Linked DNA regions of Homo sapiens: region 1 is linked to region 2. The links are contacts of gene promoters, found by promoter capture Hi-C in blood cells and fetal thymus (Javierre and others, 2016). All regions are on one chromosome and are shown on one strand. The core of a region is centred on a gene start or on the middle of the fragment in contact, and the rest is flanking DNA. Distances in the headings are between cores, read along the strand shown.

Evidence for each region. The method cuts DNA at HindIII sites, captures the fragments that hold promoters and counts their contacts. A CHiCAGO score of 5 or more calls a contact.
Region 1: a contact is called between a fragment that was not itself captured here and the fragment with the promoter of MOB1B in region 2, in 1 of 17 cell types (M0 macrophages). The highest score is 7.1, in M0 macrophages.

The regions. Positions count from the first base shown.
Region 1 is chr4:69,749,125-69,755,459 of GRCh38, forward strand. It overlaps SULT1B1 (sulfotransferase family 1B member 1), which reads right to left. Exons shown (of 8, transcript NM_014465.4): 2 at 5,946-6,137; 3 at 5,546-5,674; 4 at 597-694. The coding sequence starts at 6,093. Among named protein-coding and RNA genes, the nearest start is that of SULT1B1, 8.3 kb to the right of the region's middle. The HindIII fragment of the contact is 858 bases long and covers 2,877-3,734 here.
Region 2 is chr4:70,900,110-70,906,370 of GRCh38, forward strand. It overlaps MOB1B (MOB kinase activator 1B), which reads left to right and starts at 2,260. Exons shown (of 6, transcript NM_173468.4): 1 at 2,260-2,441. The coding sequence starts at 2,428. LOC124900711 (a long non-coding RNA gene) reads right to left here and starts at 2,122. Exons shown (of 2, transcript XR_007058132.1): 1 at 1,840-2,122. RefSeq lists silencers at 2,080-2,229, 2,540-2,589. The HindIII fragment of the contact is 2,463 bases long and covers 1,761-4,223 here.

The sequences.
Region 1 (6,335 bases), core at 2,056-4,555, 1.1 Mb before region 2:
GGAGAAGGCACAAATAACTGAGATCAGGAACAAAACAGGGTATCAGAACAAATCCTGCAGCCGTTAAAATAATAATGAGTATAATATTAACAACTTTTCATTCATAAAGTCAACAACTTAGAAAAGTTTCTCACACATCACAAATTGTCAAAAGTCAGATAAGAAAAAAACACATAATCTACATAGCACTGTAGCTATTAAATAAATAGAATTTGAAGTATAAAATTTCCCCAAAAGCAGATAAGCAGGAACAAATGTTACAACAAAGAATTATACCAAATCTTCAAATAAGGACTAACGTCCTTAAGTTCAGTTTTTACAGAAGGCCTGAAGATCTAGGGAGAGTTGGAAAAAAAAGTAGTAATATTGTGCTGAGGTTTGGATTCTGTTGCTGCTCAAGTTTGGAAAACTTGAGTATATAAACTCAGACTAAAACTTAATGGCTTTTGAAGATTTACGTACAACGTGAGTGGGTATAGTATAGATTGTTGCAAGTATATGGTTAAAGAAACAAAAAATATTTTAAAAAATAAACTATGTGAGTGGGTAAAGGGATAGGGCCATACTAAAAAACTGACATGGAGTCTGGAGTATACCTTGCAATTGTTTTCCCAGAAAGATTTAGGAAGAAGATCAGTCGGTAGATGTGTTTTCACAATCCGGGGTGATGGATTCTTCTCCAATTGTTCTATACCTGAGAAATTTAGTTAAGTATAGGGAAATATTAGAGTCTCCAGAAAGGCTACGTTTCCTTATTTTGCCAACCAGTTTTTCAAGACATTTTTGAGCATTATGTAATGCAGATAAATTCTGAAACAATCACAGGCATTTCACCACATTACTAGAGTCAGTATTGTGTAACATTCAAGGATACACATTCTGAGGTTAGCCACCCTGAGTTCAAATGCTAACTCTATCACTTAAGCATTGTGAGACACTTTGAAAGTATCTCAGAATCTCTGTACTTCACTTTCTCCATCTCCAAAAGGAGAGATAATAATACCCTCTTTAATAATTTGGAGTTTTATTATACCTGTGCATTGCTATAAATGACTATTTAAATGTTTTCTTCATGCCAAAGAGGTATCAATAACTAGTAAGTCTAAAACTGGCTATCGTGTTGTATTAGGTACTGTAGCATAGATGATGTTAACTTTGTATATAATATCAGCTGTTTTATCTATATTTTCATTATATCCTATATGTGTCATATGTCTCTCCATATATGTATAGACAGTAAAAATGTGTAATCTTTAGATATTAGCTTAACTCTCTAAAGTCATACAACAAATATGTGGTAGAACTTGATTTCAAATTAAGGTCTTAAGATAGATGATACATAAACTTCTTATGCATTCTTTTATGTTCCACAGTATTACTTATATACAGTCTAAACTCTAGAATACCTGATAATCTTACATAATCTTGCCATCTCTGAATAGAAAGGCAAACCCACACAAAATTGCATCTGACTCACTCATTGAAAACAATGCTTTGTTTTAAATGTTCACAGTAATTCACTGCATATGCTAAGAAGTCATTCAGCCTATTACATTTTTCTCTTAATGTTCTATGAAACACATTTTGACTTCATAGTTTATTTACTTATTTGTTTGCTTACTGTATGTCCCCATGTCCCTTCCCCAACCTCACTCCTAAACTTAGACTAAAATGGAGATTTCATAAGAACAGAGATGTAACTTGTTTTGTTCATAAATAAATGTCCATCGAGAACCGTGACTAGCACATGGTTAATATGAAGAAGCCTATTTAATGTCAGTAGACACAGGTTTGGCATACAGGAAATTAAAAAATGTGAAAATCCAAGTTAAATTTGAATTATCAGATAAATAGGTTGTTTTTAGCAAGAATATTTCCCTTACAACATTTGGAAAGTACTTACATACTTAATAAAATGGTTATTTATCTGAATTTGAAATTAATTAATTGTCCTGTATTTTATTTGCCAATATAAATGACTGTAAACATAAATTACTATACAACTCCATCAGGGATTTTACTATGCCTCTACTGATCTAGCAGCTACAGTCACTTTACCCAGCATATAAAAATGAGAAATTGTAATCCTCCACAACTCGTTATTACTTAATGTCCATTAGATGAACTTATGTCTGTTTCTTTTAAGAAGTTTTTCTCACATCTGTTGTTCCTTGTTCCGCATTCAGCTTCCCTGAAAGATTTCTCAATTTCCCCTATTTTGCAATCATTTTGCCAAGTGAGTCTTTTAATGAACCCTTTATATCCACAAGTATGAGTGTTAGCAATGTATAAAGACAACAAAATTATCCACATTCAGGCTCTGGAGTTTGTTTGTTTGTTTATTTGAGACGGAGTCTCACTCTGTCGCCCAGGCTGGAGTGCAGTGGCGCGATCTCAGTTCACTGCAAGCTCTGCCTCCCGGGTTCACGCCATTCTCCTGCCTCAGCCTCCCGAGTAGTTGAGACTACCGGCGCCCGCCACCACGCCCGGCTAATTTTTTGTATATTTTAGTAGAGACGGGGTTTCACCGTGTTAGCCAGGACTGTCTCGATCTCCTGACCTCGTGATCCACCCGCCTCGACCTCCCAAAGTGCTGGGATTACAGGCGTGAGCCACCGCGCCCGGCCTAGAGTAGATTTAAATGCTGCAGTTTACCCTCATCTACCTGATGAACTTCAGCCATTCACTGTCAGGCAATGCTGCATATCCTCCCTCTCTATCCCCAATCCTGCCTTCCATCTGTTATCCCTGACTCCCATGTCTCTGATTACTTTGGTTCTGTCACTTTTTCATTTCATACTTTCTATGGTTCTGAAGTCTTGCCTCCCTCTTGAACTCATTTTGGTTCCTTGCCCCAGCATAATCCCTCAGTTCCAAGCTTTCCAAGGATAGGCATGTTTAAGAACATCAAGACATAACATAGTCATGTTTAAGAACATCTTATCATAACCATTTGTTTTAAGAAACTTTGCAGTTTGCATTTTAAGTCCTTGACAAATGTAAGATTAACAACTTTGTGAGAGTAACAGATTTGCTTTGTAATGCTAAGTAAAAAATGTTGAGTATTTATACTTGAATTTTAAGTTGAAATCTTGCTAAGTGTCTAATTTTCTTTTTTAAATTTGTTTAGAGACAGAGTCTTGCTCTTTCGCCCAGGCTGGAGTACAGTGGTGGAATCATTGCTAAGTTTCTATGTAGTTTTGGAACATTTAAAATGGCTAAGATTTGCTGTATTTATGAGCTTAATTTATTGGACTATAAGTACTTGGGAAGGTTTGTCTTGGTCAGATAAATTAAGTACTCAAGGAAATGAAATATATTAATATATAAATGCCACTTAAGTGTTTAAAGGAGCTTAATTAAATAAAACTTGGATTGAATATTAAACTCCTTTTGTTATATAAGTAAAATAATAATATTTATAAGCTGAACTTAATGGCTTAGGAAACAACTGGGATTTTATATTTGTAACTTTGAAAAATTGAATATATTTTTTAAACAAAACAAAACAAAAATTGGCATTTGCTGTCTGAATTCTGGCAATGACATAGAAGGACTGACATCTTGCCAGTTGATCCGTCTCTGCCTACGGAAGTAACTAGTTCAGTCAGCCTGCTGAGGGGCACCTCCATTATAGAAGAGGATTTGGATATTTCTCTTCACATTGGCATACAGGTCTATCACTATCCTACTACTTATTTGTTTCCCAGGATTCCAGCAGCATTTGAAAGTCAAGCTTCACTTCTTGAATACCCCTCTCATTTACTTACAGAACACCATACTCTTGCATTCCCTGTTAGCTCATTTTTTTTCAGTTTCCTTTGCTAGCTTCTCTTTCTCACCTAACTTCTGCATGTTGATGTTTTTCACAGCTCATTGCTTCTCTTCTCATATAGCTCCACAGGCTTTCCTTGGGCAGTCACATTGATTCCAATGTCCAATTATGCTGAGCATTGCCTAATGAATATATTTTTACAAGCTCCAAATACCATCATTTTAATTCATTATAATTTTCTCCAATGTCACAAAGCTAACATTTCACAATTGAATTATTAATAACCCTACACCCAAATGTGTTCCTCTCCAAGTACTTTTCCTTGCAAGCGAATGGTTCCATAGTCCACTTGCTTGATGAAAAATAAAACTGTCATTTTTCTTTCATTTTCTTCATATTTCTTTTACAGTCCATCAACAAGTCACAAATATGTCTTATCTAGCATCCTCAATTCCACCTCTACCAAGCAACCTGTGGAGTCTTTGTATTTAAAACAACAACAAAAAACAAAAACTCTATATAATTTTTCTTTGCATAAAACCCTTCAATATCTTCCTCAATGTTCTTGGAATAAAATGAGAAAATGTTTTAAGAATTACAAGTCCTACATGGTCTATCCTAGCCTAATTTCCAATTGTTTTGCATCCCACTTTTTCCTTCTTTCATGGATCATTTTAGTCTCCGGACTATATCAAGATCTTCCTGGAATATGCTTTCCAGGACTGTATCCTGGGATATTCTTTCCCCAAGTATGTACAACTTTTTAATCTCAATTTGGAGTAGATACCCCTTGTTAAATTAAGTTTAGACTAAAGCTGTCATCTTACACATTTTAAGTTTGGCTTAAAGGTTTCTCTATACATAGTGAATTGTAACCTAACTGGATGTGTAAACATATTACATTCTACCCTTGTGCGAATCACCAAGTTTTGGCCAATCAAAGGTGGCCAGCTCTTCAGACTGTGTTCAAATAAGTCAGACACTAAACTTTAACTAAACCAGCTGTTTCTATATCTCAAGTCTGTTCTCTGTATGTCACATTCCTTCCTTCCATAAACCATGTAGCTATTCTGGAATCTCTGAGGCTATTTTGGCTCAAGAGGCTGCCTGATTTGTGAATTGTCCTTTGCTCAATTAAACTCATTTAATTTGTCTAAGTTTTTTTCCTTTATTACCCACTTAAAGTAAGCTTTCCTATTGTTCGCTTCCACAGAACCCTATTATTTGACTATGTAAGACTATGAACATTGACATATTGTTATTTACTTTTTGACGTCACAATATTGCTGTAAGCTCCCTGTGATACAATATACAATTTCTAATCTTATATATCTATACCATAGCACAGTGAATAATTCTTTACAAGCATTCCATAAATATTTTGTGGAAGAAAAATTAATAGTATTAGTGAATTTTATGTTTTAAGAAAAGTTGCTTCTTATTTATTAATTACAACAAAGTCCTAAATTAGGAACTTACTAATCTAATCAGACAAATTCTACCAAATAAAAGTCTTAAAAATATTGTTTATTTTATCAATCAAATTTTTAATTGTTTTGTACAGTAAGACTCTTTCATCTTTGATATCATACCTGGATGTACAACAGATAAAAATAAAGTTTCTTCTTATTCTTCAGTTTTATATTGTTTGCCACCTTCCATTTTATGTCACCAAATCTACTCCGGTTTCAGTGAAAGTCACACATACAATAATGCATATGCTGTCTAAATAATATTACAAAATAATAATTCCAAGTGGGTTAAATTTACCTGATGTTCTTAATCCAGGGAGAGTCATTTCCAACATTGGAACTTTTTCAGTAATAAAACCTCGCTTACATTTTTCAATATCTCCATCATTTAGAATCATGTCTATAATTTCACTAACCCAAGTAGTACCTGTGACAAAAGGCAACATTTTCAAAATAATTACCCAAATTGCACGGGAGAGGGAGAAGAATTTATTGGAAACACTACCATCTTAACACATTCTATTACAAACTTAATTCCCCTTTCTATGCACCAAATGCCAATTTTAATATACTAAAATAGATGGCTGCACAAAATGAATATTAACTTTATTTAGAATGGTAATGATTTTATGGACAAGTTGATTTCCAGGAAACAAAAAATGAGGTCGGACTTGAATTTGTCAGGCCACAGAACTCACCTGATTTAGGATAAGTGGCTATCACAATGTCATCTGGTCTGCTATGGAACTGTTCAATTTTTTCCCAGTTGCTTGCAAAAGCACAGGTCATGGGATAACCATGGACCAACTTCAGATCTTTTCGCAGAATATCTTTTGGGGAAAGCATTTTAATACCAGATTGTACAAATATATAATAGATTGACAGTTGTTCTGGAGAAATATAGAGAATAAAAATCAGAATCTGAGTAACTAATGTTGGTCTTAAGACACTGCAATTTGTCACAAAGTAAAATTGGCCTTTAACATTCTGCGCACATGGAGATCTAAGTACAAAGGGCATATTTTGTGGGCATTAGGTGCAGTAGATTGCAAGAGCAGTAACTGGCTCTGTGACAAGCAGGACAAAGG
Region 2 (6,261 bases), core at 1,010-3,509:
ACTCTCCTAGTGGTATGATAAAGAAATACTCAGAAGGTATTTTTGCAGATTCTTTCCTCTGCCAGTTTTCCCTTATTCAGTGTCACAGGATACATCTAAATTATGTCAGACCAAAACTAAGGCTACCTAAGCCAAATCAGGGAGCAGTTTGGAAATGTGTGCCAGTCATTTGAAGGATGCCCCTGGCAGGAGAGAACTTTAGAACTGGAAGATATTTTAGAGATCATGTAATGATAGAAGGCTCCCATTTTAAATGGGCTAAAACTGAGGCTATGACAGGTCAACTCACTCTTTCCAAAGATAATCAGTAATCTGGTAATGCAAGTCTTACTTTCAGAAGACCCTTACAAGAATCATACAGGGCTGGGCGTGGTGGCTCACGCCTGTAATTCCAGCATATTGGGAGGCCAAGGCAGGCAGATCACGAGGTCAGGAGTTTGAGACCAGCCTGGCCAACATAGTAAAACCCCGTCTCTACTAAAAATTCAAAAATTAGCCAGGTGTGGTGGCACAGGCCTGTAATCCCAGCTACTTAGGAGGCTGAGGCAGAATTGTTTGAACCCAGGAGGCAGAAGTTGCAGTGAGCCTAGTCCAGAAGTTGCACCACTGGACTCCAGCCTGGGTGACAGAGTGAGACTCCGTCTCAAAAAAAAAAAAAAAAAAAAGAATTATACAGTAAGTCAGTACCATATCAATATTTGGAGCACAGGGTTTTATACCATAAATCTATTATTTTCATTCAGATAAATCCTCCTCTTTCTTCTTTTTGGGGAATCTTTTAAAAAATTTTTAATTTAATTTGAAGTTCCAGGATACATGTGCAGGACGTGCAGGTTTGTTACATAGGTAAACGTGTGTGCCATGGTGGTGTGCTGAACCTATCAACTTATCACCTAGGTATTAAGCTCTGCATGCATTAGCTATTTATCCTGATCTGGTAATCTTTTGAGTCTGTAAGTTTTCTCATTCCAGTAACCTCTGCTGTTCCTGAGATAGTGCAAGATTCTAGTATTTTCTTCTATTAAAAAATTTTTTTTTTGAGACGGAGTCTAACTCTGTCACCCAGGCTGGAGTGTAGTGGCATGATCTTGGCTCACTGCAACCTCTGCTTCCTGGGTTGGAGCAATTCTCCTGCCTCAGCCTCCCGAGTAGCTGGGATTACAAGTGTGTGCCACCATGCCCGGCTAATTTTTGTATTTTTAGTAGAGACGGGGTTTGGCCATGGTCTTGAACTTTGGCTGGTCTTGAACTCCTGACCTCAGGTGATCCACCCACCTCGGCCTCCCAGAGTGCTGGGATTACAGGCATGAGCCACTGCGCCCGGCCTAAAACGTTTTTTTTTTTTTTTTTTTTTTTTTTTTTTTTTTTTTTTACCACTTTACCAACGTGCCAAATAATAGTGCATATATGCAGTATAATACATTTCATATCTGCACCTACTTCAAAGTGTATTCTGCCCTTTGGGATAAGCCAAAGGTGAGCTAATATCTGCACATGATTTGTTTTGCTCAGATTCTCTTTGAAAACTTGTAGATTTGATGGGTGTTGTGAGTAAAGAAGACGGACATCTCTTCGATACCCGTATTTCCCTCCTAAATTGGTAATGCTGTGGTGACATATTCAAGGTATGTGAAGGATTCTTAAACAGAATATAAAGGCTTGCCCTGGGCCCCATAACCCTGTGAGAATAAAAGTCCCTTTGTAAGTGGGTCTGAATAGCTTCTAGCTTCTAGGATGTTCTGTGCATTAGAATGCTTACAAGCTTTGGCCCCCTAAGTGGTTACACCGATGACCACCCTATCATGCTGGGTTCCGTGGTGAACTGAGAGATGCCATTACCTTTCACCGCCCTTGGCCGGACACTCACGGTGGGCCTAACTCCGGTGGTAATTCCATCCCTCACTGCGGGACCTTGACATCCCCGAGCTGAAGCCCACTTCCTCCCTGACCTCTGGAGCCCAGCTGAGCGGCTCCGAGAGCTCTGCCATGACTCCTAACCGGGTGGACAGGGGGGCCGGGCAGCCGCGGCGCACACGCTGGGCGTCGTCCCTAGCAGCAGAGGAGACCAGAAGGTGAGAGTCCCCATGCCGCAGCCGGAGGGCCGGGGTGGGCTTGCACCGCTATCGCGAGAGCTCGTGAGGTGGGGGCGGCGGGGAGCTGGGGAGGGGCTCGCGGAGAGCCTGCCCCGCCTCCCTTTCCTTCCCCTCCCCTGGAGTGATTCAAGACGAGCGCTACCCACTTCCGCCCCCTCCCCCTGCCATTGGAACTAGCTGAGCCGAACTAGTTGCGGCCACCGAGCAGCCGGCTCTCGGCACCTCCTCCTCCGCCTCCCTGTCTCCTGTTCCATTCGCCTTTCCTCTTCTTTCCTGGCCCACGCCGCTCCGAGGCCTCGCGACCGCCGAGCCTGCAGCCTGCCCCGCGGCCAACATGAGCTTCTTGTTGTGAGTAGCCAGGCCCCGCACGCGCCGGCTTTGTTCGGGTGGACCTGGGCCCCCGCCCGCCGCCCGCCGCCCGTCGCCCGCCCTCGTCCCGACCCTCCTGGCCCAGCGCTCCCGGGGCCCGGCGTCACCACCAAGCGGGGCCCCGGGACTGCGCGGAGCGCTCGGACTACCTAACCGCCGCCTCCCCATAGGGCTTCGAGTACTCGTGGGCTCCTGCAGCCCTGAGGAGGTTCTTCCCCCCCGGCACACCCCGGGGCCAGCGCCTGGATTCCTTCATCACCCCCGTCTCTGCCTTCGCTCGCATTCCCGGGCTTGTTTGTGCGCTTCTCGTGGGTATCTCCCACTCGCCTGCACAATCCGTATCCAAGCGGTGCTCGGTTGAATGGCTCCGTCGCGGCTGCCCATTGCTCTTTTCTGGGTCCCAAGCACAGAAGATAAGACTGTCGTACTTTCCCCTGTCATCCCAGGACCCTTTTAACTTCCTCTCTCGTCTTAGGGCTGGGAAGTTGGGATGACAAGTTCTGTAGATGTAACACTGAAACAAGGCTACTTGCGGGTCGGGATCCCTTGGACACAGACGGGGGTCCCTGAGAAAGGGGTCTGGAGCCGCCCCCTTGCTTCCTAGAGGCGCCCTTCCTCCCAGAGGACTTCCCTGAAGAGGATGAGTTTTATCTTTTTAGACAACCAGCAAATAGGTTTTGGATAGTGTGCCCTGCCTAGGTTGATTAGGTCCACTGGGGAGTTGTTTTGAAAATCATTTGTAAATGCCAACTTTGGCGTCATGTTTAGTGCTGGTCATTATTTCACTTACTTATCGTTTGTTCCAGACGAGTGGAGGGGAACGTGGAGGGGGAAGGGCAGAAGGATGGGATGGCCAGATGTGGATATGGAGGCAGTAGATAAGCCTCAGGTCCTCTGAAAACAGGGGTTACAGCCTGAGGAATAACTCCTTTGAAGGCTTCGTTGTGATGCACTCATTCCATGTTTAGTCTGTGTTTAGAAAACTAATAAAAAACTTAGAAGTTGAAACTCACCCATATACTGTTTTACTGTTGTGGAGAAATTAGCATTTAAAGGATATTTTCTTAAGATTTCTCTTCTTTCCTTGCCTAATAATTTTTAGTCATTACATTGACGTCTGAATACTGAGAATTTAATTCACTCTTATTTTCACATGCTCACATCTAGAATTTTTTTTTTTAGGGTGTTTAAGCAAAACTGAACAAGGCTGACCTAGGGGCAGACTTGATATTTCCAATATGCATAGGGGACCTGGCTTGTGTCAACTTGCCTAAAACCTTTAAACGGAAAGGGATTTCTTAGGCTCCTCCTAGAAGTTGATTCTGAGTTTGTCGGATTGGCATAGGGCTAGATGACAGGACTGGGTGATTTTATAAAAAAGTCCTTGTTTCTTATTTTAGTTCTTTTTTTTTTTTTTTTTTTTTTTTGAGACGGAGTCTCCGCTCTGTCACCAGGCTGGAGTGTGTAGTGGCGTGATCTCGGCTCACTGCAACCTCTGCCTCCCGGGTTCAAGCGATTCTCCTGCCTCAGCCTCCTGAGTAGCTGGGACTACAGGCCCGCGCCACCACGCCTGGCTAATTTTTGTATTTTTAATAGAGATGGGGGTTTCACCATGTTGGCCAGGCTGGTCTCGAACTCCTGATTTCAAGTGATCTGCCTGCCTTGATCTCCCAAAGTGCTGGGATTACAGACGTGAGCCCACCGTGCCTGGGCAGTTTCTTGTTTTAGTTCTAATCACCATATTCAGGTATCTCAACTTGAAGCTTCTCATCTTGAGCTTAATTTTACATTGCTAATGTTTGATTGTTTTCAAGAATTTAGAAGCTGTATTCAAAATAGCACTGTAGATGATATCCATGACTACTGCTGATGGGCTTGTGTCTAGTAAGCTAAATTGGTTAAAGCAAGGCCAGTCGCGGTGGCTCATGCCTGTAATCCCAGCACTTTGGGAGGCCAAGACAGGCAGATCACCAGGTCAGGAGTTCGAGATCAGCCTGGCCAATATGGTGAAACCCCGTCTCTACTAAAAATACAAAAATTAGCTGGGCAAGGTGGCACGCACCTGTAGTCCCAGCTACTTGGGAGGCTGAGACGGGAGTATCACTTGAACCCGGGAGGTAGAGGTTGAAGTGAGACGAGATCGCGCCACTGCACTCCAGCCTGGGTGGCAGAGTGAGACTCTGTCTCAAAAAAAAAAAAAAAAAAGGTTAAAGCAGGGAAGAGCCATATTTGGCTGAAACTAGGGGATGGAGAAGTTTCTGATGCTATTTTTTGAATACAAATACAGTAGAATCCTATTTTTACATGGCTCAGTATTTAATAGATTCAGATTTGTGGTGGATTAGTTTGTTTCTCCTGAAGGTTAGTAACTACAAAAGAAATCTTGCTGTAACTAATGTATATAGAACTTTAGAGCATTTGCACTATTTGGGGCACAATTTTTCAGTTAGGTTATATCTATCTAGCAGTTGATATATTCTCAACATATTTAGCCCATGTGCTTGACAATCAGAAAAGTTAATTCAACATTTTCAGTTTTGGTCTTTGTCTACCGTCAATTAAAAATCCAAAGTGAACACCACATGGAAATGATTATTATTGGAAGTGAAAGAACAAAGCTTTGGTTATTTCTTCTATTTGTTATTTGGTATAACTGTCTGAATACTGTTTCTTTTTTTTTTTTTGGAGACAGGATCTCACTCTGTCGACCAGGATGGAGTGCAGTGGCATGACCACAGCTAACTGTAGCTTTGACTTCCCAGGCTCAGGTGATCCTTTCATCTCAAACCCCCTCCCCGCTACAAGTAGCTGGTACTACAGGTATGCTCCACTATGCCTAGCTAATTTTTTTTTTTTCGGTAGAGTCAGGGTTTTGCCATGTTGCCCAGGCTGGTCTCCTGGGCTCAAACAATCCACTCATCTTTGCCTTCCAAGATGCTGAGGTTACAGGTGTGAGCCATTACACCTGGCTATCTGAATACTATTTCTGTACCAACAGATGAGCAGAGAAGGAAAGCGTTACAGCTTAGGAGTTAAATACAAATATTTTCCTCCCGTTCTTGGAAGCTTACTGGGAAGCCTACGATCAGTGGATGGAGCAGAGGAAATAAGGGCAATGCAAGATGGGGCTGCAAAGGTGGTGACTCATGACTCTTGAGGGCTCTAAGATAGAAGGAAAGAACTACTACTGATTTTTAAAAGATGCACTGTGGGCCGGGCACAGTGGCTCCTGCTTGTAATTCCAACACTTTGGGAGGCTGAGGTGAGTGGATCACTTGACCCCAGAGTTCCACACCAACCTGGACAACATGGCGAAACTCTCTTTCTACCCCTAAAAATACAAAAATTAGCCAGGTGTGGTGGTGTGAGCCTGTAGTCCCAGCTACTCTGGGGGCTGAGGTGGAAGGGTCATCTGAGCCTGAGGAAATTAAATACTTCAAGGCTGTGGTGAGATGTAATCATGCCACTGCACTCTAGCCTGGCTGATAGAGAGTGAGACTCTGTCTTAAAAAAAAAAGGCCGGTCGCGGGGCATAATGGCTCAGGCCTGTAATCCCAGCACTTTGGGAGGCCGAGGTGGGTGGATCACTTGAAGTCAGGAGTTTGAGACCAGCCTGATCAAGAAATGAAACCCCATGTCTACTAAAAATAAAAAAAATTAGCCGGGCGTGGTGGCGGATGCCTATAATCCCAGTTACATGGGAGACTGAGTAGGAGAATCACTTGAATCCGGGAGACAGAGGTTGCAGTGGGCCAAGATTGTGCCACTGCACTCCAGCCTGGACGACAGAGTGAGACCG